Regions from separate parts of the Homo sapiens genome. Here region 2 is linked to region 1. Evidence: promoter capture Hi-C in 16 types of primary human blood cells and fetal thymus (Javierre and others, 2016). All regions are on one chromosome and are shown on one strand. Each heading gives the region's core, a stretch centred on a gene start or on the middle of the fragment in contact. The rest is flanking DNA. Distances are from core to core; before and after follow the strand shown. Region 1 holds the start of CSNK1A1L (casein kinase 1 alpha 1 like). Region 2 has its middle 28 kb from the start of POSTN.

The links. Contacts are between HindIII fragments. The CHiCAGO score rates a contact against its expected background, and 5 or more counts as called.
Region 2: a contact is called between a fragment that was not itself captured here and the fragment with the promoter of CSNK1A1L in region 1, in 1 of 17 cell types (endothelial precursors). The highest score is 8.3, in endothelial precursors.

Annotation. Positions count from the first base shown.
Region 1 is chr13:37,103,610-37,108,506 of GRCh38, forward strand. CSNK1A1L (casein kinase 1 alpha 1 like) reads right to left here and starts at 2,055. Exons shown (of 1, transcript NM_145203.6): 1 at 1-2,055. The coding sequence starts at 1,647. The coding sequence ends at 634. The HindIII fragment of the contact is 4,821 bases long and covers 1-3,751 here.
Region 2 is chr13:37,624,321-37,629,217 of GRCh38, forward strand. No RefSeq gene overlaps it. Among named protein-coding and RNA genes, the nearest start is that of POSTN, 28 kb to the left of the region's middle. The HindIII fragment of the contact is 705 bases long and covers 1,766-2,470 here.

The DNA of each region.
Region 1 (4,897 bases), core at 805-3,304:
TAATGTGGAATTCTAAAGATAATCTGGTAGTTACTAAGATTTTCTTATGTCTTCACAGGTAAGCAGGCGGAATCTTTCCTATTCTCAAAACTGGAATTTTTGGTTACTACTAGATCAGCTGGCTTACAGACAAGAAGCCAACCATTTTAAGAATGCTCTTTATGTGAACAATTTGCAAACCCCAGGGATGGAGAAACCCTAAAAATGCTCAATCATAAGCATTTACAACCTTTGCAGCTGTGGCTGAATACTGTCCTTCTGAAATGATATCTCAAAGCAGTCTAGTTCAAAATAAAAGGTTTTAACAAAAAATTGGCATATGGACAATGTCTCCACCAATTCGTGTGTGTCAACCATTTAGTTAACTTTTCTACTTGAATAAATGCAATAGAAAACCAGACACCACGTTTCACTACCTCAGTTAATATTCACAATTACAGAGGCTACACTTTGGGATACAGCATCACCAACGCTCCCCAGAGTCAGTTTATATTGAAATAAAGTTTTTTACACCAACTAAATGGTTGTTCACAGCCACTAGCTGGTGTACATATGAACTACAATTTCTAGATGTGGGGAGAAACAAATGCTGCTCGAATCATCTGCTCTGCTTCTTCTGTTCCTCATTCACGCTTAGTTATCTTTCACATTATTCTTGTTTTTTTCAGTTTGCTTGCCTGTCTGGGTTTGGGCCTGCTGACCCTGCCCACTGGAAGAGGCTGCCTGCTGTGCTGCTTTCTGCTTTAACATCGTCCAATCAAATGTGTAGTCATATTGGTGGTTCAGGGTCCTGAAAAGAATGCGGAATAGCTGCCTCAGATACATGTAATCTGGGACTTCCTCAAAGCGCAGCCCACGACAGTAGTTCAAGTACATGGCGAATTCTGCAGGAAACCCCTTACATAAAACTTCAACAGGGGTGGACATCTTCTTCTCACTAATCTTTTCATATTTTTGTTTTTTTGTCATAGCCCTTAGTCCTTGCCACGGCAGGCTGGTTCTATTAAAATACATGAAAACGTAGCCTAAGGATTCCATGTCATCTCGGCGGCTCTGCTCAATACCAAGATGTGCATTGATGCTGGCATATCGGACAGTGCCAATGAGGTGTTTATCTTCTCTGTACGGTATGTGTTGCCTGGTCCTGTTGTCTCTGTACTTTTTGGCCAAACCAAAATCAATAAGGAACAACTTATTACAGTGACGCCCAGTACCCATCAGGAAGTTATCTGGTTTAATGTCTCGGTGTAGAAAATTCTTTGTATGCACGTATTCAATTCTGCTGATCATCTGGTCGGCTAACATAAGTACAGTTTTCATGGTGAACCTTCTTGAACAGAAATTAAAGAGGTCTTCGAGGCTGGGTCCCAGAAGGTCCATGACTAGCACATTGTTGTCTTTTTCCTGACCATACCAGTGCATGTGGGGGATGCCAACCCCACCTTGAAGAATCGTGTAGAGTTTGCTCTCATACAGCAACTGGGGGTGCTTGACCTTCTGAGATTCCAGCTTCACTGCTACGTCCTCGCCGTTGGTGGTGGTGATGCCCAGATAAACGTCTCCAAAGGAGCCAGACCCGATCTTCCGCACCAGTTTGTATTTCCCTCCCACAACGAGTTCGGCTTTGGAGCCGCTGTTGTTTGTCATCCTGAGAGGCAAAGATGGAGGCTGGGCTCAGCCCTGACCCCTCTAGGGGAGGATGGAGGCCTCCGGGGCCCACCGGCCCGCAAGGCTGAGGATGAGGGCTGCTGGAAATGGCCACCGAGGCGTTTCCCGGTGTTACAGGGCGTGGAGTCAGCCTGATCCCTGCAGCACACCAGGATTTCCGCCAGGCCACAGTTTGCGAGGGTTTCTCAAGGTTCCAGGCTGGGCCACCACCTCTTTCTCGGTGGCGGTCGCTGCCTCGCTGTCGTGGCGATGTCGTGGGCTGAGAAAGGGGGCACAGCGAGTTGGGGCAGCAGTACTGCTGCCACCGCTACCAACGGCTGTGGGCCAGAGGGCCCGGTCACGCCGCCGGCGCCGCCATTTTGTTCCTCCACCTCAGCCAACCACAAATCGAGAATTTTTGGAGAAGCTGTTATTGTCTGAGACCTCTGTTAGGTGTTCCACTCATCTCACTCCATTTAAGACAAACTTGCTAGTCTTGTAAGGTAGCTATTATTTTCCCTGATTTGTTGGGTAAGAAAGGCTGAGTCTCAGGTAAGCGGCCTAAGGTTGCAAGAGATTGTGGGCGAGCTGGAATTCAAAACTGCCTAGGCTTAACTCGAAGCTCACCTTCTTTCAACTTAATCGTGCAGAAATGGGAGGCTTTTATAACAAAGATTTTCTTGTTTTCGGGCCCAGTCATTGTCCCATCTACTTCCTTAGCCATCATGTCTCCCTGGGTTAATGCGAGTCGGGGTGCCACCTCTTGAGGTTTTTCTGTGTGATCTCAGTGGTTGCTTCTTTAATGAGTTTAGTCAACAAGAGTTACTTACTGCTAGTTAAATTGAAATGTCTTTTTTTTTTTTTTTAAAGCGATCCTTTTGAAATTTTTTCATAGAGTGCTTTGAATTTAAATAGGATTCCACAGAGACGTTCTGGCAAAACTGACTAAATGAAGGATTCAAGTAAAATTTAACCAAAATATGGAGAAGAAACAGAAGCCGGCAGTTCTGAGCATTTTCTCAGAAGAACTGGGGCCAGCACTAGCAGAAAAAGCGGTACCATTTCAATATTTTTATGAAAGTTCACATCACAAATAACAAAACCCGTGCGATTATTTTGTTTTATGAGGAGATGGGATAGGAACTGAGTATAATCCTAACGGGGCAGTAGCAACGAATTTGGGGGCCAATGGCAGAAAGGCAGGAGAGAGAGGTGCAGCTTTGAAAGCAGGTATTCTCACTTTACTGTCTCACATAAGTTAGTGCTGTTAACTTTTCTGACCTGCATCAATCTATGGCGAGAGAAGGAGCTGGTTTGAGACATAGACGGGCATAGAACATTATAAAGTGCTTTAAAACATTTTTAAAGTCCACTTCAGACAAATATGTGAGGTGGGTAGCGCAGTATATTACTTGGCTTTGCAGCAGGAACAACTCGCAAATCTCAGTGGCTTACAATGACAAAGTTTATTTATCATTCAGGTTTTATGTAAGCTGTAGATCAGCTGCATCTCTGCTTCCTGTGTCCTCTTTGTTCTAGAATGCAGGCTGAAAGAGCAGCCTCCTTAGGAGCATGCTGTTCTCATAATAAAAGGAGTGGCAAATGTTACATTCCACTGGGCAAAACACATCACATGGCCAGGTCCAAAGACAGTGGGGTGAAAATACATACTCCTACCTCAGGTGGATAGTAATACAGTATACTGCTGGCATATTTTATTATTATGATTGTACTTCTCATTTTATACAAGTGGAAATCAAGGCATAGAGAGGTTAGATGAATTGCCCAAGACCACACTACAGACAAGTGTCAGAGGCCAATTTGAAACTGAATTCTGACCCAAGGTAGTTACTTTTTATACCGTACCAACTAGAATGGCATTTCTTTCATTTACTCATCCAACTTTGTTGAAATTTGCCTGGAGAACAATTTCCTTTCTAATAACCAAGAATAAAATTTATGTTGTTAACCCACTGCCCATTATGCTTCCTTCCCGTTCAGTCTTCCAGTCAATGGCTTCAACACGAACCTTGAAATTCAAATAATCTCTATGTGAGAGAAGTCACTATTCAAAAAAGTTACAGATAACCCATACATGGACAAAAGCTTGAATCAAAAAATCCCCTTTCAATTCTGGAACTAGAATAGTTTAATTATAGTTTATTTATTGTTTACTAAGTCCCATACTTTTTTGTACCAGTTAAATAAAGGCACTGTCTATAAAGAAGGTCAAGTGTAACTTATAATGGTGGTTGGGTGAACCTTCACTTACAGGGAAGTTGTGAGCATCTCCAGAATGGGGAGGATCAGTAACTGAAGTGATGATATGACCCTGAATAGCTTCCAATCCAGTCTCCCATGAATTCTCTTACCACAAGCCGGTGGGACTGCGGATTTTTCCCCGAACACATACTCCCTGCATTTTTTCATCTTTGGGTCTTGGCTTATGGTGTTGTTTCCTCAGCCTGAAATGCTTCCAGCCTGCTTTATCTTTCCCATCGCCCAGGTCTAATCCTAATAATCTCAGGGCTCTTCCTTAAATGCTGTTTGCTCCATGAAACCTTTTCCAATCTCCTCAACCAAATATAAATACTCTTTTTAAACCCAAACAACACTTTGCTTAAACTCTTGCATCCCCTCCTACCCTTTTGTCCAAAATTTTTCCATAAAAGATGTGCAACAAATAGTTTTTAAAATGGAAGTAAATTGAACTACTGTATTTCATAAAGTTTTGTGGACAGTGTGTGGGGTTGATGCATTCTTTATTTATTCATTCATTCAACAAATAGTTATTGAATGCCTCCTATTTGCAGGCATGAGTGACTCACCAAAGGTGGCATAGGTAGGTAATGATGGATTCAGAATGGAAATCCAGGATAGCCTGCCTCCAAAGCCAGTACTTTTAACCCCTACATAGACATCAACAGCCAGAGGCTCCTGAACGCTGGGTGGCTTCACTGTTGGGAATATATTAGTTCTGTTTCTTTTCTTTAATTGTATAAAGTATTTTACCAATGCATTTTAAAGCTATGATTTAGCCTTGATTTCAAAATTGCCTCTAAAATAATTTCTATTAATATAAGATGACCCCAGTAAAAGTAAAATAACGTATTCTGGGCAGGATTGTACTGGGTAGTATTGTACTGTTTAACAGCCAATTCGGGTTTTGTCAGTCCTGAACTTTATACAATTTTTTTTGTGGCCCTCTTTAAGAAAACAACAACAACAACAACAACAAGAACAACAACAA
Region 2 (4,897 bases), core at 868-3,367, 520 kb after region 1:
GGAGGTGGGTGGGAGTGGGAGCACAGGGTGGTGATAGATGAAAAGTACAGGGTTTCTTTTTGAGGCAATGAAAATGTAAAATGGACTGTGGTGATGATTACATATATCTATGAATATACTAAAACCATTGAATTATACACTTTAAGTAGGGAAATTGTATAGTATGTGGATTATATCTCAATGAAGCTGTTTAAAATGATGTTTAATCTTTAGATGCTTAAGAATGGCCAGAAAATTCACTACAATTGAGTATAAAACATACTTAGTTTTTAAACATAACATATAAAACTTGTTAGAATTGTAGTCACTTGTTTTGCTTTAGAAAAATTTATTCCCCATTTATCATCTACAGACTGGAAATCAGGTTATTCCACACCATTGAGTGAAATCCCCAAAAAGCTCCTTTTCAGAATTAAAAGAACTCACTTCTCTTTCATTTTGACATGCAAATGTGAGGATTATTTCCTCATCTCATTCTGTCTGTAGTTAAATAGAATTTTGTCATGACAAACTCCTGTAATAAATTATTTAATGACACCCAATTATTCCCAGGATAAAGATCAACTACCGAATGACTATTACTTATCTTTAGGAAATAACACAGACATCCCTTATTCTCTGTTCCTAATACTGGGTTAGATTCCCCTCCTAGATTCTCCCCGGGGACACCATAGTTATCACACTTAATTGTTATTTCCATAGGATTGAACTTTTAGTTCAATAACTTTTTGTTTTATTATTTTATCCTCAGCAAGTATTACAATGTGTGTCACAAAGTGTATGCTTAATCAATGTTAATAAAGGAGGTAATAATTATTTCAAACAGCAATTTACCATGTGGGTGAGTAAAAATATGAAGGCGCTAAATAATCAATATATCATCAATTTAATAAATTTATTCTATGTGTCAGATGAAAAATGGTGCCTTTTCTGTATTTCTTACTATATTTCTGTCTGAAAGAAAATGAAAATACATACCTAATTTAAAAAAGTAATCTCTTTTCACATTAATGAATGATGGAGAAAAAAAAAAGTGGTCTGCAAACCCTGACTGTTAAGCACCATCTATACAGAGACTAACACTATGTTTCTGATCTTACAATGTAAAACATAAGTGAGATTTTTCCTGACTTGACATTGTGAGTTCCTATAGAAAGCATTCTTCATCTTTTTACTTCCATTTTTTGACACAGAGTCAAAACTCTGATTTGGGGGAAAAATGGAAAATAATAGAAAGTGAAAGCCAAATTAGAGATCCAGATTATCTCATACATTAAATTACAATTTCCAACTTTGAGTTTTGTAAAAAGTGGCAACTTCAAATTTTATAAGAGAAGAATTCCAATTGTTTCCATTGATTAAGCAATTTAATTGCTTGCTGTATTTTCATCAGAGAATAAAAATATTATGGTATTATATATCATAATGACTTAGCCAAAACTCTAGTCTATATTTTTATGGTTATTTATTAAAAATAATTATCCTTCTAATGCAAGCCTCACAAATGATTTTAATTAACATGGGAATTTCATGCCACACTCTTTATCATTAAATGGCTATATTTTTGCTGGACACTAAATTGTAATGTTTAATGGTTTATACACAGTCTCATAAAATTATAATTTCATTATTCTAATATGATTTAGTTTATACTAATGAATTACATTAATTTTTTTTACCCAGGTTATTTTCTTTTGTTGTCATTATTCACTGTCAAAGCTAAAGCGGAATACATGATTGGTGGTTTCAATGGTAGCTACTAACAAGCTTCAAATTTAGTGAATATTCTTTAAAACACAGGGTGTCATGCCATATTTCTGCAATCTCATGCTTTTTCAAACAGCCATTGAATTTCATGAAGTGGCTTGCATTTGAACTTTTTTAATTTATTTGTTTATTTCTGGTTTCCAGTCTCATCAGAGCAATTTTTCTCATCTTTATTGCTTCTCCATCTGGTTCAAGAAGTTGTGAGAAATGTAATAGAATTGAAAAATTACTTGAGTTTTATTTTTTTTCAAACTTCAGAAAAGTCTGGCTACAACTTCAGGGTAACTGGGTTAGTTTTTATCTCATAAAAATAATTTTTCTTTCGTGTTGTCTCCCCATTTCACTGCTATTAATAACTGCATGTTTGCCAGTCAGCATTCCCCTCATCATTTCCTCTACGTTACATGTGTGATTCTATTCCTGAAGTTTACTTTTCTTCTGTAAATCTGTATGTATGTGATATGGTTTACTTATTTGTCTCCTCCAAATCTTATGTTTAATTGTGATCCCAATGATGGAGCTGGGGCTTAGTGAGAGGTGTTTGGGTCATTGGGACAGTTCCCTCATGAGTGGCTTGGTGCCCTCCCCATTGTAATGAGTTCACGTGACAGTTGGTTGTTTAAAAGAGTATAGCAATTCTCTCTTGTGCTCTCTCTCACTATGGGACACACCTGATACCTCTTTGCCTTCTGCCAAGAATAAAAGCTTCTTGTTCAACAGAAGCTGGTCAGATGCCAGCACCATGCTTGCGCAGCCTGCAGAACCCTGAGCCAAACCTCTTTTCTTTATAAATTACCCAGCCTAAGGTATTCCTTTATAGCAATGCAAAATGAACTAATATGGTATGCTACTTAATGTACTTGAAAAAATGGGAAAGACAGTATGATTATATATAAAACACAAAAGAATACAACCTTTAGAAAAAAACACATAGAATGAAATCCTCATGATCTAGGCAAAGTGCTCTTCAAATTTTCATACAAAGTAAGATGGAAAAATTGGACTTAAAATCTTAAAATCATGCTTTGTTGAAAACTCTGTCAAGAAGATGAAAAGACAAGTTACAGACTGGGAGAAAATATTTGCAAAACACATCCGACAGATGACTGGTATCTCGAATATAAAAAGGACACTCAAAAAGTCAACAATAAAAACAAACATACAAACAGTCTAATTAGAAAATGTACAAATGACATGAGCAGACATGTCACCATGATGGCATACAGATGGGGAGTAAACACAATAAATGGTGTTTAAAATCATTATCCATTAGGAAAATCCAAATTAATATCACAATGAGATATTGTTACATAGAAATCAGAACAAGTAAAATACAAATTGTTACCCACATAAAATGCTAGCAAAAAAAGAGAAACAGAATCACTCATATATTGTTGGCGAGTGTGTAAAAGGTACAGTACACTGACATGTCGTTTATAAAACTAAGTATGCAACTGCCATACTACCTAGCAATTGTAGTTCCGGGCGTCTATCCCAGACAAATAAAAATTATGTTCACACCAGAACCTGTACATAAATGTTCATAGCATTTTTATTTGTATTAGCCAAACACTGGGAACAGCCTAGCTATCCTTCCATGGGTGAAGTGCTAAACAAATGTTGTTATATCCACACCAGGGAATTTAACTGAGCAATAAAAAAGAATCAAAATTTGATAGACATAAACAAACAACTTGAATAAATTTTCAGAGAATTATGCTGAGTGAAAAGCCCTAACCTTCAAAGGTTATATGCTACATAATTCCATTTATATAACACTGATAATGTTTTGACTTGAAATGACAAAATGATAAAAAATGGATAACAAATTAGTGGTTGTCAGGGGTTAGGGATGGGTGTGGGGGTGGAGGAGAGGAAATGGAAGTATTATACAGGTATACCTTGTTTTACTGCACTTTTCTCCATTGTGCTTCACAGATATTGCATTGTTTTACAAATGGAACCTGCGAGTCTATGGATGCCATCTTTTTAACAGTATGTGTTCACTTTGTGCCTTTGTGTCACATTTTGGTAATTCCACAATATTGTAAACTTTTTCATTATTATTATATCTGTTACAGTGACCTGTGATCCTTGACATTACTATTGTCATTGTTTGGGGGCAACACAAACTGTGCCCATTTAAGATGGTCAACTGAATTCATAAATGTTTTCTGTTCTGACAGTTCCACCGACTGAATATTACCCATCTCTCTTCCTTTCCTTTGGCCTCCCTATGCCCTGGACACAACTATATTGAAAATAGGCCAATTAATAAACTTGCAAGGTCTTCTAAGTGTGCAAGTGAAAGAAAGAGCTGCATATCTCTCACTTGAAATGAAAAGCTATAGATATAATGAAGTTTAGTGAGGAAAACTTGTTAAAATCAAGATAGGGTGAAAGCTAGGCCTCTCACGCCAAACAGCCAAATTGTGAATGTAAAGACAAAGTTCTTGAAGGAAATTAAAAGTTTGACTCCAGTGAACACACAAATGTTAAAGCAGAACAGCCTTATTGCTAATATGAAGAAAGTTTGAGTGGTCTGGATAGAAGATCAAACCAGCCACAATGTACCCTTAAGCCAAAGTCTAATCCAGAGGAAAACCCTAACTCTCTTCAATTCTATGATGACTGAGATAGGTGAGGAAGCTGGAAAATAAAAGTTTGGAGCTGGCAGAGATTGTTTCACAAGGTTTAGAAAATAAGCAATCTTCATAACATAAAAGTGGACAGTAAAGCAGCAAGTGCTAATGTAGAAGATGCAGTGAAGTGTCCAGAAGACAAAACAGCCTTCTACTCGTCTACTGGAAGAAGATACTGTCTAGGACTTTCTAGCTAGAGCGGAGAAGTCAATGGTTGGCTTCAAAGCTTCAAAGAATAGGCTGATTCTCTTGTTAGGGTATAATGCAGCTATTGACTGAAGCCAGTGCTCATTTACCATTCCGAAAATCCTAGGGCCCTTAAGAGCTATGCTAAATCTACTCTGCCTATGCTCAATTGATGGTACAACAAAGCTAAGATGACAGCACATCTGTTTACTGCACGGTTTACTGAATATTTTAAGCCCACTGTTGAGAACTGCTGCTCAGAACAAGAGTTTTCTTTCATTTTTTAAAATACTACTGTTCAT